Regions from separate parts of the Homo sapiens genome. Here all the other regions are linked to region 3. Evidence: promoter capture Hi-C in human tissues and cell types (Jung and others, 2019). All regions are on one chromosome and are shown on one strand. The core of a region is centred on a gene start or on the middle of the fragment in contact, and the rest is flanking DNA. Distances in the headings are between cores, read along the strand shown.

Region 1 (3,411 bases), core at 858-3,357, 810 kb before region 3:
AAAAATTCATATTTACTTAAGGGTTTGTATGGTGGTTATCTTTTATAGTTTAGGTTAATTCTTTCATGAAGCTTTCAGAGAGCATTCAACATTTTATTTATTTATTTATTTAACAAACAGTGGATTCATTCACAGGCTCAGGGCTCACTCTGTCTGGGAAGGGGATAGCATCAAAAATAGTAGACTGGATGGAATTGAAGCTTGGCCTTTAACCTTTGCTGAAAGGATAATATTTCAGCTATCTGAAGAATGTGTCAGAGAAGGGAAGTGAGCTCCATAAGATAAATGGAGATGGAGAAAAAGAAAATTATTGCAGACCAGAGAAATCAATGAATCCATAGTATTTGTTGATCAGCTACCACTCCTGCTAACTCATGACATGTTTTTATCCATCCCTTCCACGAATTGTATAAAAGTTTTACTGAAACGTGGCTAGGAATTTTCTGTCTTCCCTGATGTCAATCAGATGTTCTTTCAATTCATCAGAAGTAGTTACATTTTAACATTTTTAACAAATGAGTTTAAAAACAGCAACAAATCTTTTTTAAAAAAAATAGAGGGATTTTAAACATGCTAGAAAAAAGTTTCTGAGTTTCTTAAGTAAGTTACAAGTTTTTAAGGTAAAATACATTGCTTCTTGCACTAAAATAATAAAACGATGGGAACATTTCCAGACATTTGCTTCCACAGTGTTCTCTCTATAGCCAACATTTCCTTTCAAATAGCAGGTCGTTTTTAATGTATTGTTGTAAGGTTACCATTACAGTGAAGGGAAAGTTTACATTTATGGCTCATTAAAAGTTCGTATTAGAAGGAGATGCAAAAGCTCTAAAATTTTCTTACTGATCACTTGCTCTTTCATTCTAGTATTATACTGAATGTAATCTCTATTTAATTTGTAGAAACTTTTTAAAACCACTTGTATATTTGGAGATTATTAGATTAGTTAGAATTAAATAATACAATCCATTTAACTATGGCATATATCAATTGCAACACATCACAATTCAGATAATTCAGGCAAGTAACTCACTCTTCCCATGATATTGATGACCTAGGACCATTGACTGTATGAAGCAAGTGTGGGAGGTGGTGCTAATTCTTATATCACATATTGGCGTATTTCATTTCATTGATATTTTTGCATATAAAAATGAAAGTTGTAATGTTTTCCCATACCTCAGTGGATTATCTTTTTTAAAAACGGACTATTTTTAGAGCAGTTTTAGGTTAACTGGATCATCTTTTGTATCTCTGCTTGCACCCTATTTTTTTTCCTTCAACTTTTATTTTAAGTTCTGGGATACATGTGCAGGATGTGCAGTTTTGTTACACAGGTAAACATGTGGCATGATGGTTTGCTGCACAGGTCAACCCATCACCTAGGCATTAAGCCCAGCATCCATTAGCTATTATTCCTGATGCTCTCCCTCTCCCCATGCCCCTGACAGGACTCAGTGTGTGTTGTTCCCAACCATGTGTTTATGTGTTCTCATTGTTCAGCTCCCACTTATAAGTGAGCACATGTGGTGTTTGGTTTTCTGTCCCTGCATTAGTTTGCTGAGGATAATGGTTTCCAGCTCCATTCATGTCCCTGCAAAGGACATGATCTCATTGCTTTTTATAGCTGCATAGTATTCCATGGTGTATATGTATCACATATTCTTTATCCAATCTATCATTGACGGGCATTTGGGCTGATTCCACGTCTTTGCTATTGTGAATAGCATGCACCCTATCTTGACAATCACTATCTGAAATGAGTGGTAAGGTGATGGCAAAGTGTATAATGACTTCTTACAGCTGTATAATTTGAATCTCCCTAGATCTCACAAGAAATACCATTAACAGTGACATTTTAAATTTCATTGTCTTTTTGGACTTAACTGCTTACTGCAAGACATTCAATTTCCCCTAAAGCCCGTTAAATGACTGATGGGTCTGGCCGGGGACATCTTACACATATTTATTAGTCATCTTTTCAAGCTCCCCTCCATGCCTTCCTTGTTGGTGTCTGCTGTCCAGGCCATCATGCAAAGAGGATGCTTTGCCACTGTCCCTAGAGCTTTGGTCTGTGGTGAAAATGTTGACCCTGCCCAGAGCCCTGCATTCTGCAGCTTCCCCAAGATGCTGAAACTTGAAGTGTGTTTTGGAGGAAAATGAGTAACTCGGGACAATAATTTGGTTGGCATGATGACATGATCCAAATGGAATATCCTCAGTTGACATCTATGTCTCTTCAGAATTTTTCTACTTTTATGATTTTTAATTTCACAATTACTTTCAGCCAAATGTTCCTGCCCTGCATTATTTGTAACACTGAGGAGTTGGAAGCAACTTTTAAATTGCTGGCACAGTTTCACTATTACAAACTCCACAGAGTACAATTATTTCATTGGCAGAAAATGCATTGGAAGAAAGAAAACTAGGGAAAAAAGAGAAATGTATTTATTCACCAATACATTTTTTAAAAGCAAAAATAATTAACATTTGCATAGTTGCAAAACTAACTGATGATGAACCCAAATTTTCCATGCAGGAAAAAAAATTGTATTTGAGACATATTTATTTTTTAAAAAAAGAAACAATCTTTCAAACCAAATATTCATCCAAAGCTAAGTTGTCGATTTTCATCACTGCCATTTTGTTTGGAATTTAATTGCTTATAATCAAATTGTTTTCAGCCATGTCACCTGGAGGAAACATCTTTTTCCCTGGTTCTGAGTCATTTTCTGTCACTGCAGTTCTGAGGTGCACTCATTGAGTCCCAGTCATTTACAGAGAGGCCCAGGGAAACAGGTGCTTGCTTCAGCCTGCAGCTGTGCCTACCAAGAGGCATGGACCAATCACTGCAGCTCTCTGAATGCTCCCACTTCTTTCTTCAGAAAGCTATTTTCACCTGTACTCCCTTGTCCCACATGTGGACAACTCAAGGGACCTGGCAATCTGATCAAATTCAATACTGGTTCAATATTGGAAACTTCTTTATTGAACAACATTTTATAACTTTAACAATATATTCACATTTATTATCAATCATTTAATTCTGCCAACACACCTGTGAGGTAGTCAGAGCAGAATTAGTCTGAACATTTTTCAGATGAGAAAAGTGAGTTGTAGAGCTGGAAGGAAAGTTGAATTTTATTTATTTATTTATTTATTTATTTATTTATTTATTTTTATTTTTATTTTTGAGAAAGAGTCTCACTCTGTCACCCAAGCTGGAGTACAGCGGCTTGATCTTGGCTCACTGCAACCTCCACCTCCCAGGTTCAAGCAATTCTCCTGCCTCAGCCTCCTGAGTAGCTGGGATTACAGGCATATGCCACCACCCTCAGCTAATTTTTGTATTTTTTCGTAGATACAGGGTTTTGCCATGCTGGTCAGGCACCTGACCTCAGGTGATCCACC
Region 2 (3,319 bases), core at 778-3,277, 730 kb before region 3:
GTGACAATTTTTAAATTGGAGAGCAGCGAGTGAGGCTCGTCCCTGCCAGGGCAAAACCAAGGCAGTAGCTTGTTCTTGTCAGTCTGCACCCACCTGAGGGCTCACTGCATATAGGGGAAGTCCTATCAGGAGCATGACAGTGAATGAGGCAATGCATCAATAGGACATATGTTGAGAGAAACTTTCCACCCCGTCCCCCTTTACTGACTTCCCCCTCGTGCCTACAATTCTGTTTGTAACCTTCTCCAACTTGGTCACAACTATTATTCCCAGAGCCATGCCTCTTCCTAGCAACCGGAAGATGAGGTGTTCCTAGAATCTTGAAGATCTCTAATCATGAAGCTGTGCGGAGCAGTCTTTGAAGGAGGAGGCTGCCTCTCAAAGCTCCACAAGCAGCAGGAGTCTGACTCCAGCCTAGATGACCTTGGAAGCCAGAGCAGACTTCTTAAAAAACAAGGCTTCTTTGCTTCCCCACCTTTTACGTTTTCTCCGCTTGTAAGTTCTGTCTCTGCCCAAAGTTAATCATAGATGATCCAATGGATCTGTACAGATATTTACCTACAGCAGTACCCATTGTCATTTTATGTGTTTTGGAAAAAAAAGAACCTACATTTCTAACAATAAGGAGTTGGTTGGATAAATTATGGTATATCCATACAATGTTATACCACATGGTCGTTATAAATGATGGAGAAAAGAATATGTAATAACAGTACAATGATCTTGATTCCTAAATGCTAGAATTATGCATGATTTTTTCTTCTTTGTGCTTATGTACAATTCCTAAATTTTCTATAATGCAGATAAGAAAAGGGAAATGTTTTAAGAAAAAGGAAATGTTATTTTTTAAATCAGCAGTGGTTTTTTTTCCTCTATTTTGAGGCCCAAAGACCCTTGGATTCAATACCGTTTAAAGCAACTATAAATTTTTTAAATACTTAAAGCACATCTTCATATATAATTTACCTAAGAAATCAAGAGTACATTTCTGGACATTTCAAAGCTATAATTTCAACTGTGATCCTGGAAACATAATAAAGCCTCAAGAGTAAAATGCATGAGTAAAATTTGTGTCTCCATCAAAACCCCTTGACACGCACAAATTTTATTTATGTGAAGTTTGGGCAGAGACCATCCCTTTTATGATTACTGAATCCTATAATTTAACAAACTACCTCTTTTTCTCTTTCTGAAGCTTGGAACTTAATAGTTACAAATACAAGTGTGTAATACGGTAGAATTTTGTTAAATCTCTCATGCAATTATACCTTATTGCTTATCATAGTTTAACATTAGTTTCATATTAGCAATTTAAACAATTTTTTATTACTCTGATTTTGGAGATGTCAGAAAAAGCTTCATAAATATTCCTTTTTGTTAGGAAAGAGCATTCTTATAAAATGGAAACTCTGGGGTGGGCTAGCTGAATATGCCCTATAAAGAAAATATAGAAAATGTTAAAATAATGAGCAGATCTTACCTTCCGATTGCCTTAGTTAATCTTTGGAAACCAGGGAGACAGTTTTCAGGAGGTTGGGTTAACACTTAAAAGCCACCTGGGTACCATACAATCCAAGAAAGCAGCAATTCAGAAGAGCTAATGGTACTTTTGAAAAGTGCTTTACTTATTCCTTGGGGGAGTTGTTCAGACATAAGGAAAATCTGGCTCAGATATTCGTGGTTTTATAGCTGCTGTAACCAAGAAAGTCAGAGTGAAATATAGGCATTATATAAGAAGCCTCTTTATGTGCCAATGTGCTGTATTTAGTCCTAATTGCAGATAGGGAAACTGAGGTCCCTGAGAATCTATTTATACTTGCCCAAAGACATAACAAACCAGATAATAAAAACTAGACTTCACACAAATACGATACATATTTTTTAAAAAAACTTCAAAGTTTGTCTGATTTTGTTCACATGTTCTGAATATTTGTTAATTCATTAACTCCAGATATTTGGACAGCTTGGCTTGATTTGAATAACACTTTGAAATTTAATGCACAGCCCCCTTCTCAGTGTTATAAAATTTTGGCTCCAGAGATGACTGTAGTTCTTGAAAGTCCCCCATCACATATATCTTCTCACAAAAGTGTAAGAAACATATCTTTTTCTTTAACTCCTGGCTCAGATTCAGGTTGTAAAGATACGTGGTTTTCCAAACACCTGCGTGAATGTTAGCAAGATCCAAATCTGCTTGAGGGACCTGTATGTTTTTCTCTAACAACTCATGTTTTCTCCACCAAGCACTGATCCAAGATCTGCTTCAAATAGCGTATATTCTTTCCTAAAAGATCTTTTCTTCTCCTCTTCAGGAATGATTAGGAGAAGCACGTGCAGTAAGCCTGACTGCAAGGCTGTTAATGCTGAAAAGAAAGGTATTGGCTAGCCCAGATTACTGGAGAGGAGAGAAAAGGCTAAGTGATTTTGAAACCATTTTTAAGAGTGGAGTGGTGTAACTTAAGCCGCACTGGAATGCTGAGGGATAGGGTTCTTCAGACTTTCTCATGAAGGAGATAAAGCACCAAAAGAACTGGAGTTGGAGCTCCAAACATTTGGCAAAGACCCAAATCTTTTCAGTGGTAATGGTGTGATATTTAAATTGTTCAAGAATACTCTTGGGCATGCTTGATGATCCATGAACATGTAACATCAACTTGGATTTAACTCTTGTTAAACTGGGTCCTTCTAAAGATCATGAGAAACTAACTGTCCTTTTCTCAGGACTCGATGCTGTTAGTTGGCTAATCATCAGTAGGAACTGCACTCTAAATTTCTTCTCCAGTAGTAGTGACAAATTTGTCACAAATGGTTTTCTCTCTCTTGTTTCTCCCACTTATCACCAATGGCTTGTGTTTGCAAAAGACAGCTATGCACTTTGAAGTTAGACCTTACAAAATGTGTGACCTTCAACAAGGTGACTTAACTTCCCCAAGTTGCAGCTTCCTCCTCTGTAACCTAAGAGTAATCAGTGTGCACCTTAGAGATTTCTTCTCAATGTTATACAAGAAGATGCAGTGTAAAGGATTTAGCCCAGTTCTGGCATGCAGTAATTTAACACAAATAACAGTAACTAATATTTATTAAGTGCTTATTATTTGCCAGGCAAAGTTCTAAACACCTTATACATATTAACTCACTTAATAATATTATTAACCCCATTTTTCAGATGTGAAAGTGGAGCTACCTACTTATTGAAAGTTTAAAAAATGAATAAATAATGCTACTTTCTTACTTTCCCAAGCTGGAATAGAATTGAGAGATAGACATTGGAATAAGCCAGATGAATCTCAAAATATTGCTTTTATTATTGATGAAGGCA
Region 3 (3,301 bases), core at 630-3,129:
GGTTGCAGTGAGCCGAGATCACACACTGCACTCCAGCCTAAGCGACAGAGCAAGACTCTGTCCATATATATATATATATATATATATATATATATATATATATATATATATTATCAAGTTCTCAAAGCCAGAAAATGGCAGCCGCAGGTTAAGGATACTTACATGAAAGAGAAAATGGCAATTTCAAAAAATGCTGAAACTATTTGATCTGCTTATGAAAACGTCAGAGGCTATCAAATCAGGCACTTAAAAATTAGAATAAAAAACCAACTGCATAACTAGTATCCTCATAATCAGTACACAGGACTCTCATTATAATATTCAATATATGGTACAATCTATTTAAGAAAATGGTCATTATTTTACATTTAAAGTTACTATTCAAGGTATTTTAATAGAAAAGTGGTAATCAGGGGAATGAATCTCACATGTAATCTTTACTACAATGTTTTCTTTCAAGACTGCTATCATACCACAGAAAACAATCTACATTATAGGAAAATCACGTCTAAGTAACTCCCTAGCACTAAAAATAATAAACCTCTCGACCTAACCTCCCACCTGAGTTTGTTTCCACTGACAGCAGCTCATCAGTACTTCAAATGCAACACCTTCAACACCACATTCAAGACTCCTCTTTCAGACTGACTTTCCATTTTTCACACTTTCTATATTAAAAGGCCCCCTAACATAAACAGGTATTTGTTGTTTTCTAAAAATTATAATATATGGAAAAATCTTTCTCAAGCCTGGCTCCGCATTCTTCTGTTAACATTAAGGATACCCTAATACTCCAACGCAGCCAGTTGAAATTTTTGCTATCTCTGACTACCCTACCATTATCCCATGACGTCACATCCCTTTAATTCTACCTGTGCAATTTTTCTCCTCCATTCAGCTGGTCCTTCCCATCTTCACTGCTACTAACCTGCTTCAGCACTGTACTTAACCAAACTGCCTTCTGAGTGTTACGCATGGAATTTATGCAGCGGAATTAGGTTTTCATAATAAAGTTCTCGGAGGATAAATACCAAAACCAAGTATGCCACAATTCCCTTTTTTCCTGGCTAACTTCAACCAGTGGTCCTCCTTCAGATTTCGTCAGACTTTTCCAGAAACGATATCCTGAGTCTCCCCTATAATGGTTAGGTGTCCCTATTTGCTATCCCAGCAAGTACTCATTCATGTTGGCTGAATAGTGTACTCTGTTTACCTACACTATCTCAGCTATTACTTCACTACATAGCACTTGAATTGTCTACTTTCTGGAACTACACGCTCCGTGATGGCAGGACTGTCTCACTTGGGGTTTACAACCAGTACTGGCACGCTGTTTTTCGAGTTTTTCAGTAATGAACTAAAGAATAAATGAAGGAAAACAAATGAGACTATCAAATAAATCTTGGGAGGCAAAAGATAAAAACCTGGGTAAACTGACAGGAGATGATGACAAGAGGAATGAGGCGCGGCGTGTAGTAGAGCACAGCGACCAGGTTTGTAATCGTAGCTCTGTTTTCACGCACACTATGACCTTGGGCAAGTCATCTTTTCTTTCTGGGATTTCTCTTTCCTCAGATTTAAAGCAATAGCTTCTAAGACCCAGCAGGTGGTAACATCGACCCCAGGAAGTCGGAGGATGTACAGGACGGGGCACGGGGTTGCCTGAGGACCTACCGGGCCAACAGCGCTGAACTGCGGTACCTGACTGTTCCGTGCCGAACAGTGAGTAGCATAATCGCAGCCGCTGATGTCTCCGGGCTTCCAGAGGACAAAGGGTGGCGGGAAAGGGGGCGAAGAGGTAGGAACGTCGAGACTCTAGGAAACATCGCCGAGACACGAAATGAACCAAGAACACAACTGAAATGGTGCGTCCCGCTGCCAAACACGTCCCCGCCCTCTCTTCCGCTTCCGGCCTGGCGCCTTCCTCCCCCTTTGCGCTCCGGTGGGCTACAGGGGCGGGTAACTGTGTTCCGGACTCGCCCGCGGCCGGGCGGAGCCAGTTGCCTCCAAGCGACCCGACCCACCCCGCGATTGTAGTCCTAGAGGCGGAGTCCTCGCCAGAGTTCAGCAAAGGTTCGCTGGCCGAGGCGGGTCCCAGACCGGCGAACCCGACAGTGGAGGGCGTGACCAGTTGTGCAAAAACTACAGATGGTGCCAGTGAGATCAGTCTCTTCTTTAACAGACAATATTTTGCGATGTTTGGAGGGGAAGGGTCTACAGCGTTCACCACGTTCTCAAAATGCGCCATGGCCACCAAAGAGGTTTAAAAAAAATTACTAAAAGACCTGCTGCCCTATGAATTAGCGTTTCCTTTCAGTCTTTATTTTTGATGTAGAGTCAAAATGAGACATAGGTTTCATTTTTCAAAAATAGCTTTATGGCCGGGCACGGTGGCTCACGCCTGTAATCCCAGCACTTTGGGAGGCCGAGGCGGGTGGGTCACTTGAGGTCACGGGTGCGAGACCAGCCTGGCCAACATGGTGAAACCCCATCTCTACTAAAAAAAAAAAAAAAAAAAAAAAATACAAACACACACACACACACACACACACAATTAGCCGGCCGTGGTGGCGGGCGCCTGTAATCCCAGCTACTGGGGAGGCTGAGGCAGGAGAAGCGCTTGAACTCGGGAGGTGGGGGCTGCAGTGAGCCGAGATCGCGCCATTGCACTCCAGCTTGGGCTACAGGGCGAGATTCTTTGTCTCAAAAAAACAAAAAAGAAAAGAAAAAAAGATTTACGCCGGGGGCACAGTGGCTCATACCTGTAATCCCAGTACTTACGGAAGCCGAGGCGGGCAGATCACTTGAGGCCAGGGGTGAAGACCAGCCTGGTCAACATAGTGAAACCCTGACTCTACTAAAAATGCAAAAATTAACCTGGCGTGGTGGCGAGTGCCTATAATCCCAGCTACTCGGGAGGCTGAGGCAGGAGAATAGCTTGAACCCGGGAGGCGGAAGCTGCAGTGAGCCAAGATTGTGCCACTGCACTCCAGCCTGGGCAACAGAGTGAGACCCCGTCTCAAAAAAAAAAAAGGATGAAAAGATGCAAGAGAGAGACTTGGCTTTTACCTGTCCCTCATGAAACAGGGAACTGTGACCCCAGAAGAGATGTGGGGTTCCCAAACTTGGAAGGGGATGAGAATAAATCTGGTGGGAAATGTTGGCTAATAGGACACATGGGAACCACTAGCCTAAAATTCCATAAAGGCATTCCAAAGTTTACATCAACATTTTCCCTGTCCTCTCAAAAAATAATCAAGGTGGGGAGGTGAGTTTTTGTGATACTAAAACACAGCTTACA
Region 4 (3,148 bases), core at 399-2,898, 680 kb before region 3:
CGTGATCCGCCCGTCTCGGCCTCCCAAAGTGCTGGGATTACAGGCGTGAGCCACCACGCCCGGCCGAGCTTAAAGAATTTTTATTGCAGTCCAAACAATGGCTAAACATAATTTTCTTGCCTGATTTATACCCCATGAAGTAGCTAGCCTGTTTCACCATTAGGTTACACTCAGGTCCAGAATGACTATGTTTTCTCATTCTCCAAATCTCCAGAAAAAAAAAAAAGCTTAGAGGACAACTACAATCTGGATGGGGGTAAGCAATAGAACAATCACCATTTTAATTGGAAAGGATCTCCAGCAAACATTCATCTGTGGCACAACCATGCGCTGGGGTCAGAAATTGTCACCCCTGAGAATAAAAGCATCAGTAGATTCTGAAGAATGTGGTTAGATGTCACCTTCTCTCCTCCTCTCCTCCTTTCCGCACTGTCACCCTCACCACACCTATCTTTTCCTCCCCCTGGAAAAAAAAAAAAAAGCAGAAATTGGATCCTAGAAAAGTGCAGGCGCCTCTCCAATGCTGGCCCTGTCAGGGAAGTGACACCTCTCCGTTAGGCCTGTTGGTCTCTGCCCTCCTGGACAAGCCCACTTCAAAGTTGCCCAGCAGCCTAGCTTCCTGGCCTTTAGAAATGGTGATGGATTCATTTAGAATCAGGGGCTACCGAGCTGGGAGCTGAGGTGCTGCCGAAATGGCAGGTGGTTGGCGGTGGCTTGACAGCAATTAAATGTACAAATCTTTGATTAGGCTCCCGGGAATGGAGTCATTAGCAACCCTGAACAGACCAGCTTGCTTTCCACCGCCTCATTAACTGCTCCGCTAATGTTACTTTAAAAAGCCGAGGGGATGAGGGGAAAAAGAACACCTATCCAACACAGAATGAGTGACAAAGCAGAAAGGGAGGGGAAGAGGCCGGGGTAAGCATTTCTAACTGAACAAACAGGTCCCTGCTTTTTTCATGCTGTGGTCGCTGACATGAGTGTGCATGTGCACATTTGCTGGACTGTGAAATAGCCCCATACCTGTCTGATTCATCTGCCAAGAAGGGCTTTTTTTCTTCTTTTTTCTAATCTGCCTTTTCAAAATCCCGGTTGATTCACTCTTCCAGCCAAAGCCTCCGTTTTGGCTCAAAGTCCACATCTATCAGATCTAGAGTGGGGCTACTGCACAGCTGTCTACACCTTTCCAAAGAGTGGTCTGTCTGGAGTCTGCATTCCACCCTTTGGGAGCCACAGAAGCTGTGTTAATACTCCACCTCTGTTGCGTGATCCTGGCTCCCACTGTGATGTTCATCTATCTCCCAGGGATGGCATCCCCAATTGATGTCTACCTGGCAGGTTTCCTCCGTATTATTAGAGAGCTAAGGTCTGGCTAAGCACAGCCATGCATGTTGAAACATCTTCCCAACAGGGAGCTTTAAAACAAGAGGGAAATGTGTCTCACAACCTTAATGTAAAATCCTGTGTGATCATTTATTTGATTAAACTGAATTCATTGCACAATTTATTATTTTTATTTTTCTCAACCTGCCAGTCACTGGATTAATATTTATAAAGTATGCGCCACACATACTTATTGATCATCTGTTATAAACGTCATTAATTTGTTGTGGAAAATCTACAGGTGAAGGACGGTCTCTATCTTTGAGTTTAGAATCTATTAGAAAGAAGCATCCTATGCATCTTCCCTCGTTTTTTTATTTATTTATTCAACAAACATTTGTCATGCGCCTGCTTAGTTTAAGCATTGTTCTTGTCAATAAAAATATGAAGGACAACATAGTATAATAATTATAATTGCATACTATCTGATAAGCATTTTATATGCATTAATTAATTTAATTATCGCAGCAACTCTGAAAGGTAGTATTTTTATCTCCGTTTTAAAGATAAGGGAACTGAAGCACGGAGAGGTTAAGTAACTTGCCCACGGTCACACTATTGGTAAATAGCAGAGCTGAGATTTAAGCCTAGGCAGTCTGGCCGCTTAACAACTATGCTGTGCTCCTTTGAGGTGCTTTTAGCTTAACGGGGAAGACAAACATTAAAACCAACCATTTCAATACAACGTGATTAGCACATCTGGGTAAAGTATATAAAAAATACATGATAGGGAGAAAAGGGAATTATTAACTGTCCATGGAAAACAATTCATAGTTGAAATGATACTTGATCTGGGGTTTGAATCAAGAAGAAAACAAAGCCATAGCCTTCAAGAAATTTTAATCTAATAAACTAGTTCACTAAATGTCCTTGCCACTGTTACGACATAAGTTTCGAAACAAATATATCAAATAAATGGAAAATTCTGAAAAGGAAAATATCACATCCAAGTTTGAGGGTATTGGCAGGAAAGACTTTAACCAAGGAGGTGATATCTAAGGAAGCCTGTAGGGGCTGGTCGAAGTCAAGGATGGAGCCTTGGTAAAAGCAGAGAAGATGGGAGAAGAGAAAAAAAAAAGGATTGGAGGAGGGAGAACAGAGAGAACAAAGATAAAGGTGTTTTCAAGAAGGTGAGCATAAGGACATATGTTGGAAGAATGGTCTGAGCTGAAATATGAAGGACATTGAATGAGAGATTTTATCTAATTCTAGAAATGTATTGACGGTTTTAGGAGTAGGAGAGTGAAATAAAAATGACTTAGGAATACCAAAGAAAGCAATAGAGAAATACAATCAAATAAATATAATGAAAAAGTACATTTTCAAGCCAAGAAATATAAGGGGCTATTGTTACTCAGAATAACAACCTACTACAAAGAGTTTTTACGAAGCTCAAATACGGTAACAGGAGGCATTTCTTTGCAAACCATAATGTGCCGCACAAATGCCATTATTACTTTCAACAATATGTTTATGTGACCTTTATAATTCATTTGTCTTTTGTACAAAGTTAGGAGGCTCCATAAGTTATCTGCATGTCTCCAAGGGCCATTAAAATGGGACAGGCCATCTCAAAGAAGCTTTTTATTTTGCAGTTGACAATAACGAGAGGCCTTTCTAAACTATGTACCAGAGGAATCAGAATGTGCATTCTCAGAGCTCCTTGGCCTCCTGAGGAGGAGGCACTTCTAGAGGGGTGGGGGTTCTTCCTCTATGGCCACTACTGAGGGGGTGGGTCCCTAACAAGGGAGAGGAAGTAATTATT
Region 5 (3,203 bases), core at 471-2,970, 750 kb before region 3:
CAACTTTTTTTTTTTGAGACGGAGTCTCGCTCTGTCGCCCAGGCTGGACTGCAGTGGTGTGATCTTGGCTCACTGCAAGCTCCGCCTCCCGGGTTCACGCCATTCTCCTGCCTCAGCCTCCTGAGTAGCTGGGACTATAGGCGCCCGCCACCACGCCCGGCTAATTTTTTGTATTTTTAGTAGAGACGGGGTTTCCCCGTGTTAGCCAGGATGGTCGCGATCTCCTGACCTCCTGATCCGCCCGCCTCGGCCTCCCAAAGTGCTGGGATTACAGGCTTGAGCCACCGCTCCCGGCCACTTTCAACTTTTTAATAAGAAACAGTAGCAATTATAGGCACAATGTTACTGATGAAGGATCATTATCAGCTGGTGCCAGGAAAGACAATAAAACACAAGGACCATAAAATCTGACATTTGGCTATCTTGTCGCCTCAATGGGGGAAAGATTTGCCAGGTTTATTCTAATGTGATATTTTTCATACAGGTACCTCAAAATTAAAACCGGGACCACCAACATCATAAAATATCATATTTTCAAAATAAGACGAAGCCCACATTTGAAAAAATTTCTAGAGCAGTAGTTTTCAAAGTGGATGCCCCACGTGGAAAACAACATAGTAGATCTTCTATATTCATCTAAAAAATAAGAAAGATAATAAACTTTACTATCATTTATGAGTCCTCATGTCTGATGTTACATGAAAGAAGAGCTCCACCACTGAGAGTCACAGGTGCCCTTCCGCCTCCGTTGCTTCCAGAATATTATAGTACATGGCATTTACATGTGCCCTTGTTGAAAGAGTTTGAGTTTGAGGATTATATGATCTAGTTTTAGTTAAACCAACCATCACAAAAACTGACTTAAAAGTAATCCCGCAAAGAACCCATGATGAAACCCACAATGCATCGTGGCAAGTGAGATAAGCACAAGGAAAGAAGGTGGTAGGTTGGCCTTCCTTCTCTCCCTAGTAAAGGCTCTGTGTCAGCCACAATATGGGCTCAAGACATTGATGGTCTCATCACACCTGAGAAGAATTTGGCAGAAGACATTTGGCATTATTAAGAAGACTTTGAAATTGGGATTTACTTTCATTATCATTAAAGATGAACCTTGGCTAAAGCTTATGTTAAGCCTTCAGATGTTAGTTAATCAGAATATACAGCCATTGTGATTAGCAAGATATTTAAAATTCCTGTTTGTCTTTGATTCATCATTGAAACTGTTCTATATTATATGTTTTAATGTACATACTATTCCATACCTTATGTAATTTATGATTAAATCAATAGGTGTATATTTATTTATTGGAGTCACTCAAACATTTTACTGCATGGCTGTACAATCTAGTGTAACACAACATTAAGTTATGTCTGGGTTTACTCTCCACTATGAAGTAGTCTGCCTCTGAACTACAAAGTGATGAGAAATGAGCTTAGCGGAACATTTTAACCGTGGGGATCAAGTTCACTATGTTCCAATGCATGTGTGGTTTGGTCTCAAGGACCTGCTGCACCTTGCAGCTATGCTCCTGAAACTTGGCTCACTGTAATGTAAGGGAGCCATTCCAATGAATATAATGTTTTCTGATGCAATGGAAAACATATTTTTGAATTATACTTCCAGAAATTCACATATTCTGTTACTATCTAAATGTGTTGGACCCTTAATAAGAGGCTCTTTAATGTCCACAACTGTGTAGATTCATGTAAAGATGTGTTTCTGTTTTGAATCTTGAAATTATGCCACCCCCATGAGCTAGTTTATTGTTTTGCTGGAAGTTTTAATGGTAGGAGGAGGGAAAAAAAGAAAATAGAGAAAGAAAAAACAGAGAAGCTTCTAGACATCAGAAGTGAAACTGGGATTATTTTTAGGCAAAGAACAGCAGTTGATGCTATCATAATAAACCTCTGCTTTGTGTAGTGATTTTCTTCCAAAGAACTTAGAGCATTTCATACACAACTTAAGAACACTTGGTGAATCAGCACCAAAACGGATAACACAAGCTACCTGCAGATTGTTTTTTATTAATGACTGCCTTCAGGGACTTATACCTAAAGTGGGGATTTAATTGCTCATCTGAGAAATTAGAGGGAGAGATTGAATGTAAAGAAGGAAAAACAAAAGAAAAAGAAATAGGTGGAGCAGGAGAAAGATCAAAAGCAAATATCTCAGGGTTACTTTACCCTTAACTTTATTTCCTTCTGTCTCTTTCCACCTCTACAAGACTTAATTGGCTTCTATCAGGTGATACCCAGATCCCAATTTGGTGATTACCTTGTGCCTGTTCAGAGCGCTCCTAGTAGTTTCAAGTTTTCTCTTTCTTTAAGGTGCTGGTGCTGCCACTTGGTGGAATGTGTTTATTCAGGGAACAAAGTATTTGCTAAGAAATATGCTTTATGTACTCACATTATAAACACTTTCAGTGTATATACTTGAGCCCTTCTAAAAATAATTCTGCAAATGTCCTTATATAAGGTTTATATGAGACTATCTAGTGCTTAGGTACCTATTGATTTGTTTTTATATAACAGGCTCTTGTACGATAAAGCTCCATGACTCACCACTTTTAGAAATAATCTCTTGCTGTATCTAATTGTTAATGTTGACATGCTGCTCTGTGGATCTAGTCTATTTTTTTTCATGCATTATGTGTTTGGTCTCCAATTAATGTGTTCTGTCTCAAGGTCAGAAGCTGTACTTGTTCCTTCCTTTGGTGGCGTTTACTCTGTGGAAGCTCTTTTTCATTGTTGTGATTGTATGGCGAGAATCCCTATTACCCTTCAGAAGGTATGCCGAGCCTCTTGTACATGGTGCATTTCGATGGCAGAGTCGAGCTTAACTTCATGATTCATTATTTCACTCGGTTAATATTTTTGATCTCCTACTACATGCCAGGAGCTGTTTTAAACTCAACAGTAAACAGAAAAAAATTCCTGACCTAATGTGGCTTGCATTTTCATGTGGGAAGGATAGATAATAAGCAAAATAAGTCAGTTAAATATTCAGTAAAGTACTAAGGAGAACAAGGTGGCATCTGAATAAAGTCCATGAAAATGATTTTGAAATGAGGGAGCATGAAAATGAAGGAGCAAGCTATGGAACAATCTGGAAGGAAAATACTCCCCAAAGGAGACAGTAAGTACAAAGGGGTAATGCAGGAGCAAGACTGTTTTGTTCGAGGAAGAATGAAGAAGCCGGTAGG
Region 6 (3,377 bases), core at 25-2,524, 650 kb before region 3:
GAGACACCAAATCACTGTATGCTTTGCTTAATAATGAAGAAGAGTTTAGCAACCCTATGTGCCTGACACTCTACCAGCAAGGGTCTCAAGGTGACTGGTGAACATGATGGTCCTGTGGAGCTAACAGAGGTGAGAGGGGACAGTGCTCAATGTGCTACTGAGACTTCCTGGAGTGGGGACCCAGGGCATTGCCCTGCTCAGATCCCAGGCTGACTCCTCACCCTCTGGTGTAAGGACCAGGTCATCCTTCTTGGGAAAACTCTGGTCATATTTTCCTTTTTAAATTTTTTCAAAAGAAGTCAGCAATCTGGGTTTTATGTAATATCCTTTTATTTTTAAATGTTGGAAACTAATTCCAATTGTGAAAACTCCTTTTGGGGAAACTGGCCCTCAATGAATGCCCTTTTATGACCTCTGCTGGAGTGGGTATCTAGGGAGGGGTGAAACAAAGTGGGACAAAGCAACACTCCCAAAATAATATCCTGTAACATAGGGAGTGGTACTGGGGGTTTTGAAGAAGGCTTTTCAGAGTCTCCCAGGGTGGCGCAAAGAGAGGAAGTGTAGGATTTTTGTTTGATGTTTCTTAAAGAAAGCCATGGTTCCCAAAGGCTGCCTTAGTGAGTGGCCACCCAAAAGAAGCCACACACATGGGACCATGTGCTGTGAACAGAGGAGTCAGGGAGCATGAGGCTGAAGTCCACAGGTGTGGGGTCACCACCACTACTCATGCAGGCATGTATGTGCCCACACTCTCTCTGCCTATAGACCATGTCATGGCTAGTGGGGCAGGAAATACTTTGACAGAGACGATCAGCAATATAGAATCTTGGACATTCGGTGCTCCCGACAACCTCAACAGTCTTTTCAACCTTGTCATTTTACACAAATAATCTGAGCCCAAAGAAGAAACAGACTTCTTGCTCCCAACTTTGCACAGCTGATTTACAGCTGAGCTGAGACCTTAGCTCAGGCCCCTGCCTCTCAGTGCAGACCTTGTCTTGAAACCCTTTCCTATCCCTCACCCCCATCCTCACTCCAGGAGAAGTTGTTGCAAAGGGGATTTGTGAAATGAAAAATCGAATACAGTGCATTTTGGTATCTTTGTAAGACTCTTCATATCAAAAATTTAACACGCCAAGAAAAATAATCCTTTCTCAAATCGCACATCCCAATTTAGGGCTCAGAAAAAATAGACACCAAATCATTGTATGCTTTAATTACGATGAAGAGTTTAGCAAGTCTATGTGCATGACATCCTACCAAGCATTTTACACGTGTTATTGCATATAATCTTCATGATTATCTCCATTTTACAGCGGGGGGAATTGAGACTTTAAGAGGCTATGAAATCTGCCCCAAGACTCAAAGTTAGGAAGTGATAGAGCCAGGATTTGAATCTGTATAGTGTCATTCAGAGCCCTAACGTAATAAATATGGTTCCTATAGCTGAGCCACCCCTAACTCCACTCCCAAGAGATAACAAAGGTCAAGTTCCCAGAAAGCTTTCTTCTGGAAAACCTACCACTGTCCTGGCATCTAGAGCATAGTCTCTTATGCAGAACACTAGCTTGAGCCCATTTCATGACACATATTTTTTTTCCAGGCTCCAAAAATGTGGTCTTCCTTTATTATGCCAATTAGGCAAGAACAGATGGTCTTCCTCTACTCAACAGTTAACCATTCAACATTTATGGAGAAAAATCCTAGAAGGGTTTATTTCAAATATGAAAAGTGCCAGCCCAAAGGAAAATTATTTGAATAATTCTCCGAGGTGGGAGGGGCAGTTCTAGAGGGAGACTTTCTGCAACTTTAACCAAAATGTCATGGAATGTGTACATTATAATGGCAGAATGTCTTGATCCCAGAAAAGTACACATAAACAGAGAGAGGTAATTGGAATCATCATTTTGACACCTGAAAGGATGACAAGAAACCTTTAACCTACAGATAATCAGTGGAGTGCACTGTCATTGTGAATGGCTCAGCCAGTCTGTGGGATATCACATTAGCAAGCTGGCTGGCTTATTAGAGACATCTAATTCTTTCATATACTTAGCACTGAAGTGGATAGGATTCAAAACAGCTTCCTTGTCTCTGACATGCATCCAAATTTTTAATAGCAGCTAAGTACCTTACTAAGCAATTGAATAAAATAATGCATTCAAGCCCCCAGAAAACCTTTTCAGACCTCTTTTTATCTCTACATTTTACTGATAGAGAATGGATTGTAATTCAAATTTATATACTGGGCACATGCCGAGCAATAGATTTTTTTTTCCTTTGTAAATCTCAAGCATTCCAAACTATTGAAGGAGTTAAGCAATTTTGATCATTTTGAAACTAGCTGTCAGATTTAATCTCTGCTAAGGAGACAGAGGGCAAATGTACTCTGAAGCTTGTTATATAATTTACAGATTATTTTTGCAATTTATATTCCATCAAATAGGGTATATGAGACTCTCAGAAAGTACGTAATGATCAATTAATTTCAGCAGAGCCATCCTGGTGTCACTTATGGGATAGACATGATTAGACCTTTTTCTAGCTGAGTCCCAAGGTCAAGTCATCAAATATGACTGATTACATTTTCTAATGGTTTCTCTATGCCCATTAAAGAGCACTCAACTATTCAGACTCTCCTTTGATCGTGACATTCAAAATTTGCTCTGATGGCTCCTGACAGGCAAAAATGTATTCTCTAATCTTTAACCACATAAACAATAGCTAACCACTTGTAATTGAGTTTAAATTGATTTCAGGTGGCTTCAGAGAAAAGCAATTTCTACAACAGATTAACCTCTTAATTAAAGTATATTAAGAATACTGTCAGGTGTAGAGATTCTGCTACAGAAGAAAATTATCCCTCATTGACATTCATTTATGAAAGAATTGCTGTTGTGCTCCCAGGTAACAGGTTACTTATTTGTGCTTCTTGCCTCACTAGGTCAATGCAAGTCTAGTTTCAGTCATTAGAATATCAGGGTTTTATAGGGGAAAGATGTGGGGAAAGAGAGGGAGTGTCTGAGGGGGTGACATGAAATAGGTATGTTCCAGTACTTAACGTCTTCAGAAAGTTACTTTTCTCAAGAAATGGGACTTTCCTCAAAAACCATAGACCCCCTTCAGTTAGCTGAGTAATGAGGAAACACAGGTGTCAACCAACATGTCAATAACAACTAGACAGGTTTCTTCAAGGTGTCCTTCGATGCACTGTAAATAGACACCATCTCTGTCCTCTGTGTCTTTGCTACTCAGACCAGCATCACTTGCGGGGACTGTGAGAGATGCAGAATCTCAAGCCCTTCAGGCCCCACCCCAGGTCTATGGAATTAGAATCAACCTGTTTTTCAACAGGATCCCCAGGGAATTCATTTGCG
Region 7 (3,142 bases), core at 240-2,739, 890 kb before region 3:
TCTGCTTTTTTGTATTTGTGCAGGACATTTGTGCAGGGAGCTCTTGGAAGGACATTCAGATTTTGTTCAGCTGTGTCTGTCGACACATTTCTGGACTCTCTGCAAATAAGAGTAGATATGAGACTCAAGTCCTGGAACCCTTCTGTAGCTAAACCCAGAGTCTCAAATTGTGAAAGCTGCTTTCAGGGTCACATTCTATGGCACCTAGAAACACTGCACTGAAAGAGAGGTATGTTTCCTCAAATTTTAGCAATTGTAATTTCTTAGTGGAAGTAATTGGATTCCACAGTTTGCTTCCTATTTTGGAAGTTACAGAGAAATCAAAGTCTCTCATAAGAAAAGTATTTTTCCGTCTTAGCCCACTGTTTCCACTTTCAAAATATGTTAAAACAACAACAATAATAAAGCTATTTCAATTGTGCCAAATTCCCCCAGACTCCACTATTGTGACTGTGTTTCTAGTTGATATTCTATAATCTTATCACTTTCAGCCACACATCCACATACCACCCTGGGTTATTTATAAAGATAAATCCTGTGCTGAGATCAAAATCTACAATCTATTTTTTCTAGGTCTAAATTTGTTTTTGCGGCTTTAGAAATGATTTTGAAAATATTTTCCAGGGAGTTTATTTGTGTAAAAAAGATTTTGGTAAATAAATTACTCAGAACAAAACTAGCTTTTAGGTTGTCAGCTACCAACTACTATGTATTTGGAATATCTTGAGTTATCCAGGAACTGATAGTTAAGTGTTTGAATGATTTGTACTCTTAAGTTTTAATGTTTTCAAAGTGTGTCCGTCTAAAAATATAACTCCAAAATTCTGGCTCTTTGTGAGCATTGGCTTACTAGTGAATTAAACTTTGCATTATCCATACTTTCTGAACTTCAGTTTCCCCATCTTTAAAGTGGAATAAGTAATAAAATCTACTTCGTAAAATTATCATGAGAACTAAATGACATAAGACATGAAAAATAATGATTGCTCATCACACAACAAATGCTCCATAAACAGTGCGTGAAAATATTATCTAAAGAGTTCAGTTTAAAATTAATAATTGAGTTACGACATTTACAACAATTTGTGTACATCTTCTATCCCCAGGAGCCTGCATGCTGTGGGAGGATGGGCAGTGGCCTCCCTTGACCTTCAACCTTCTCCAGTCTTCAGCCTCTTCTGACACAGCAGTCTCTCAGTAAATATTGCTGGACAGAAATTCATCTGACTATCAACTTGCCATGCTCCCTATTGGCATTAATAAGTAGGAGTTGTCTATATTTGGAATTCAATTTCTTTTCTCGAAACACACTTAAAAATTTTAGCGCTATTTTAAAAAATAGTGGTTTTGTTTTACTCTTCTGTTAAAGCAACTAAATTTGAAATTCTAATGCAAATTCAGTAAATTAGTGTTAATAAGCTTACACCAAAAAAGAGTCAGCAGATAAATGATGTAATTGGTTTTTCCAAGGAGAGGTAAAATTGGGAGAATGACAATAATTTGTGATTTGCTTTGGGCCTTGTCTCAGACACAATAAGCTACAGTCCAGATAGTTGAGCTACAGTGAAAACAACAGTCAATCTCACATGTGAAAGTTATGTCCCCTCACTTGTGAGAAAACCAATGTCATCAGGCCCTTTGCTTGAAAAGACCAGTTGAAGGCACATCAAGCTGAATTCGTAGCTTTTACTCTGTAAGGAAAATATTTCTGAACTTTCATCTAATAGAACTTTTCTACTCTTTAAATTGTACAAATAAATGTATGAACAAATGTTCTAAGCTAATTTACAAATATTATCTGGTGTTATTGCAATACATCAAACATATTTGACTCAAACTATGGTTAGCTCCAGATTTAAATGTTGCATGTTCATGGGTGTAACACAGAGAACTTTAATTCATAGGACTGTATAAATGTTGGTCTAACATATATTTAGAATACCCAATATGTGCTATGACTAGTGCAAAGTGTTAAAGATATGGCACAAAAGAATAGGAGAGAAGTGCTAAGATGCTTGCCTAGATGATTTGGGACCACATTGTATAATGCTATGCTTTTGAATTTGAAGCACATCATATTTTGAAGAGCAAGGTGGTAAAAGACATTTATATTGAGTGGAGAACACTATAAATAGTGGCTATCTGGAGAGCTGGAAGGTGAAGGTGTCCAAGACTGAAAGCAGCTTTAGAGGGTGAGCATGCCATGGAGGTGAGAGCAGGAGTGACAGCTCACATGTTGAGTATTTGTCATCCTGGTCTTGTCAAAGTCAGCCACTGGTGCTTTCTGGCAAAGGAGTGGCTTCGTTTGTGCTTAAAAAAGGATGTCAATAGTGAGAAGGATGAATTCAAGAGAGAACAATTAGTGTTTGATCTTACCTTATGGACAGCTCGTCTGGACACAGGACGCACTAGCTTTCTCAATTTGGGGGAAGGCAGGACAGGCCACTGCTGGGACAGGCCACTGTGATGAGAAATTGCTGCTCTGCACTGCCCGCACATGAAGGGAGAACAATCTTGCCCTGTAGTATTTAAGCCATAAATTGGTTCATGTTTCAGATTACAGGGTATGACCAAGGCTATGTGTTCACTAACAGACATTTTCTGAGCCCCAAGCTGACTACCAACCCTGATGAATGCTATAAATTCATTCAGGGAAATGAATTCCTATCTCTTGACATAAAGTAGTCTCCAGAATCTGCTAGTATCCAAGCACATTTCTCCAGAATCAGATGCATTTCTCTGAAAGAGCAATAGCAGCCAATGGTGCAGTGTGTCCATCAGAGTTCCAGCAGGAAACAGATGGCATTCTCAAACTGTTACTCAGGGATAAATGTTAATAAAAGAGCGATTTAAAACAGGATGGGAAGATGTAAGGGCATGTAAGAGGGATGTTGAAAGACCCTGGGCTAAAATGGCAGAAACTGATAATGATGCATGAGCTCTTTATTGCTCTTGAATCTGAAGAGAAGTGTGCCAGTTCCAGATCTCAGAGAGGGTAACCATAGGTAGAATGTTACTGGAGAGAGGCTGTGGCATTTGATGGAAAACATAGCCAATCTGTGCACACTGCAGGAAGGGAATGCACAGACGCCCTTTCCTTTCACTGGAGCAGGGAGCCCACTGGTACAGCCTGTACAGATCA

Evidence for each region. Contacts are between HindIII fragments. The study calls those that stand out against the background at their distance.
Region 1: a fragment that was not itself captured here is called in contact with the fragment with the promoter of MRPS31 in region 3 in 1 of the 25 tissues and cell types used here (heart left ventricle).
Region 2: a contact is called between a fragment that was not itself captured here and the fragment with the promoter of MRPS31 in region 3, in 4 of the 25 tissues and cell types used here (dorsolateral prefrontal cortex, hippocampus, lymphoblastoid cells and 1 more).
Region 4: a contact is called between a fragment that was not itself captured here and the fragment with the promoter of MRPS31 in region 3, in 2 of the 25 tissues and cell types used here (H1 embryonic stem cells and spleen).
Region 5: a fragment that was not itself captured here is called in contact with the fragment with the promoter of MRPS31 in region 3 in 2 of the 25 tissues and cell types used here (H1 embryonic stem cells and spleen).
Region 6: a contact is called between a fragment that was not itself captured here and the fragment with the promoter of MRPS31 in region 3, in 2 of the 25 tissues and cell types used here (dorsolateral prefrontal cortex and liver).
Region 7: a fragment that was not itself captured here is called in contact with the fragment with the promoter of MRPS31 in region 3 in 1 of the 25 tissues and cell types used here (mesenchymal stem cells).

The regions. Positions count from the first base shown.
Region 1 is chr13:39,961,022-39,964,432 of GRCh38, forward strand. No RefSeq gene overlaps it. Among named protein-coding and RNA genes, the nearest start is that of LINC00332, 220 kb to the right of the region's middle. The HindIII fragment of the contact is 4,852 bases long and covers 1-3,411 here.
Region 2 is chr13:40,041,507-40,044,825 of GRCh38, forward strand. No RefSeq gene overlaps it. Among named protein-coding and RNA genes, the nearest start is that of LINC00332, 140 kb to the right of the region's middle. The HindIII fragment of the contact is 3,135 bases long and covers 461-3,319 here.
Region 3 is chr13:40,769,311-40,772,611 of GRCh38, forward strand. MRPS31 (mitochondrial ribosomal protein S31) reads right to left here and starts at 1,880. Exons shown (of 7, transcript NM_005830.4): 1 at 1,675-1,880. The coding sequence starts at 1,826. RefSeq lists an enhancer at 1,769-1,938. The HindIII fragment of the contact is 6,562 bases long and covers 1-3,301 here.
Region 4 is chr13:40,086,604-40,089,751 of GRCh38, forward strand. All of the region lies in intron 4 of LOC124903162, which reads right to left. Among named protein-coding and RNA genes, the nearest start is that of LINC00332, 94 kb to the right of the region's middle. The HindIII fragment of the contact is 4,453 bases long and covers 1-3,148 here.
Region 5 is chr13:40,014,591-40,017,793 of GRCh38, forward strand. No RefSeq gene overlaps it. Among named protein-coding and RNA genes, the nearest start is that of LINC00332, 170 kb to the right of the region's middle. The HindIII fragment of the contact is 6,324 bases long and covers 1-3,203 here.
Region 6 is chr13:40,122,260-40,125,636 of GRCh38, forward strand. All of the region lies in intron 1 of LOC124903162, which reads right to left. Among named protein-coding and RNA genes, the nearest start is that of LINC00332, 58 kb to the right of the region's middle. The HindIII fragment of the contact is 3,529 bases long and covers 1-3,039 here.
Region 7 is chr13:39,879,391-39,882,532 of GRCh38, forward strand. No RefSeq gene overlaps it. Among named protein-coding and RNA genes, the nearest start is that of MIR4305, 220 kb to the left of the region's middle. The HindIII fragment of the contact is 4,152 bases long and covers 1-3,142 here.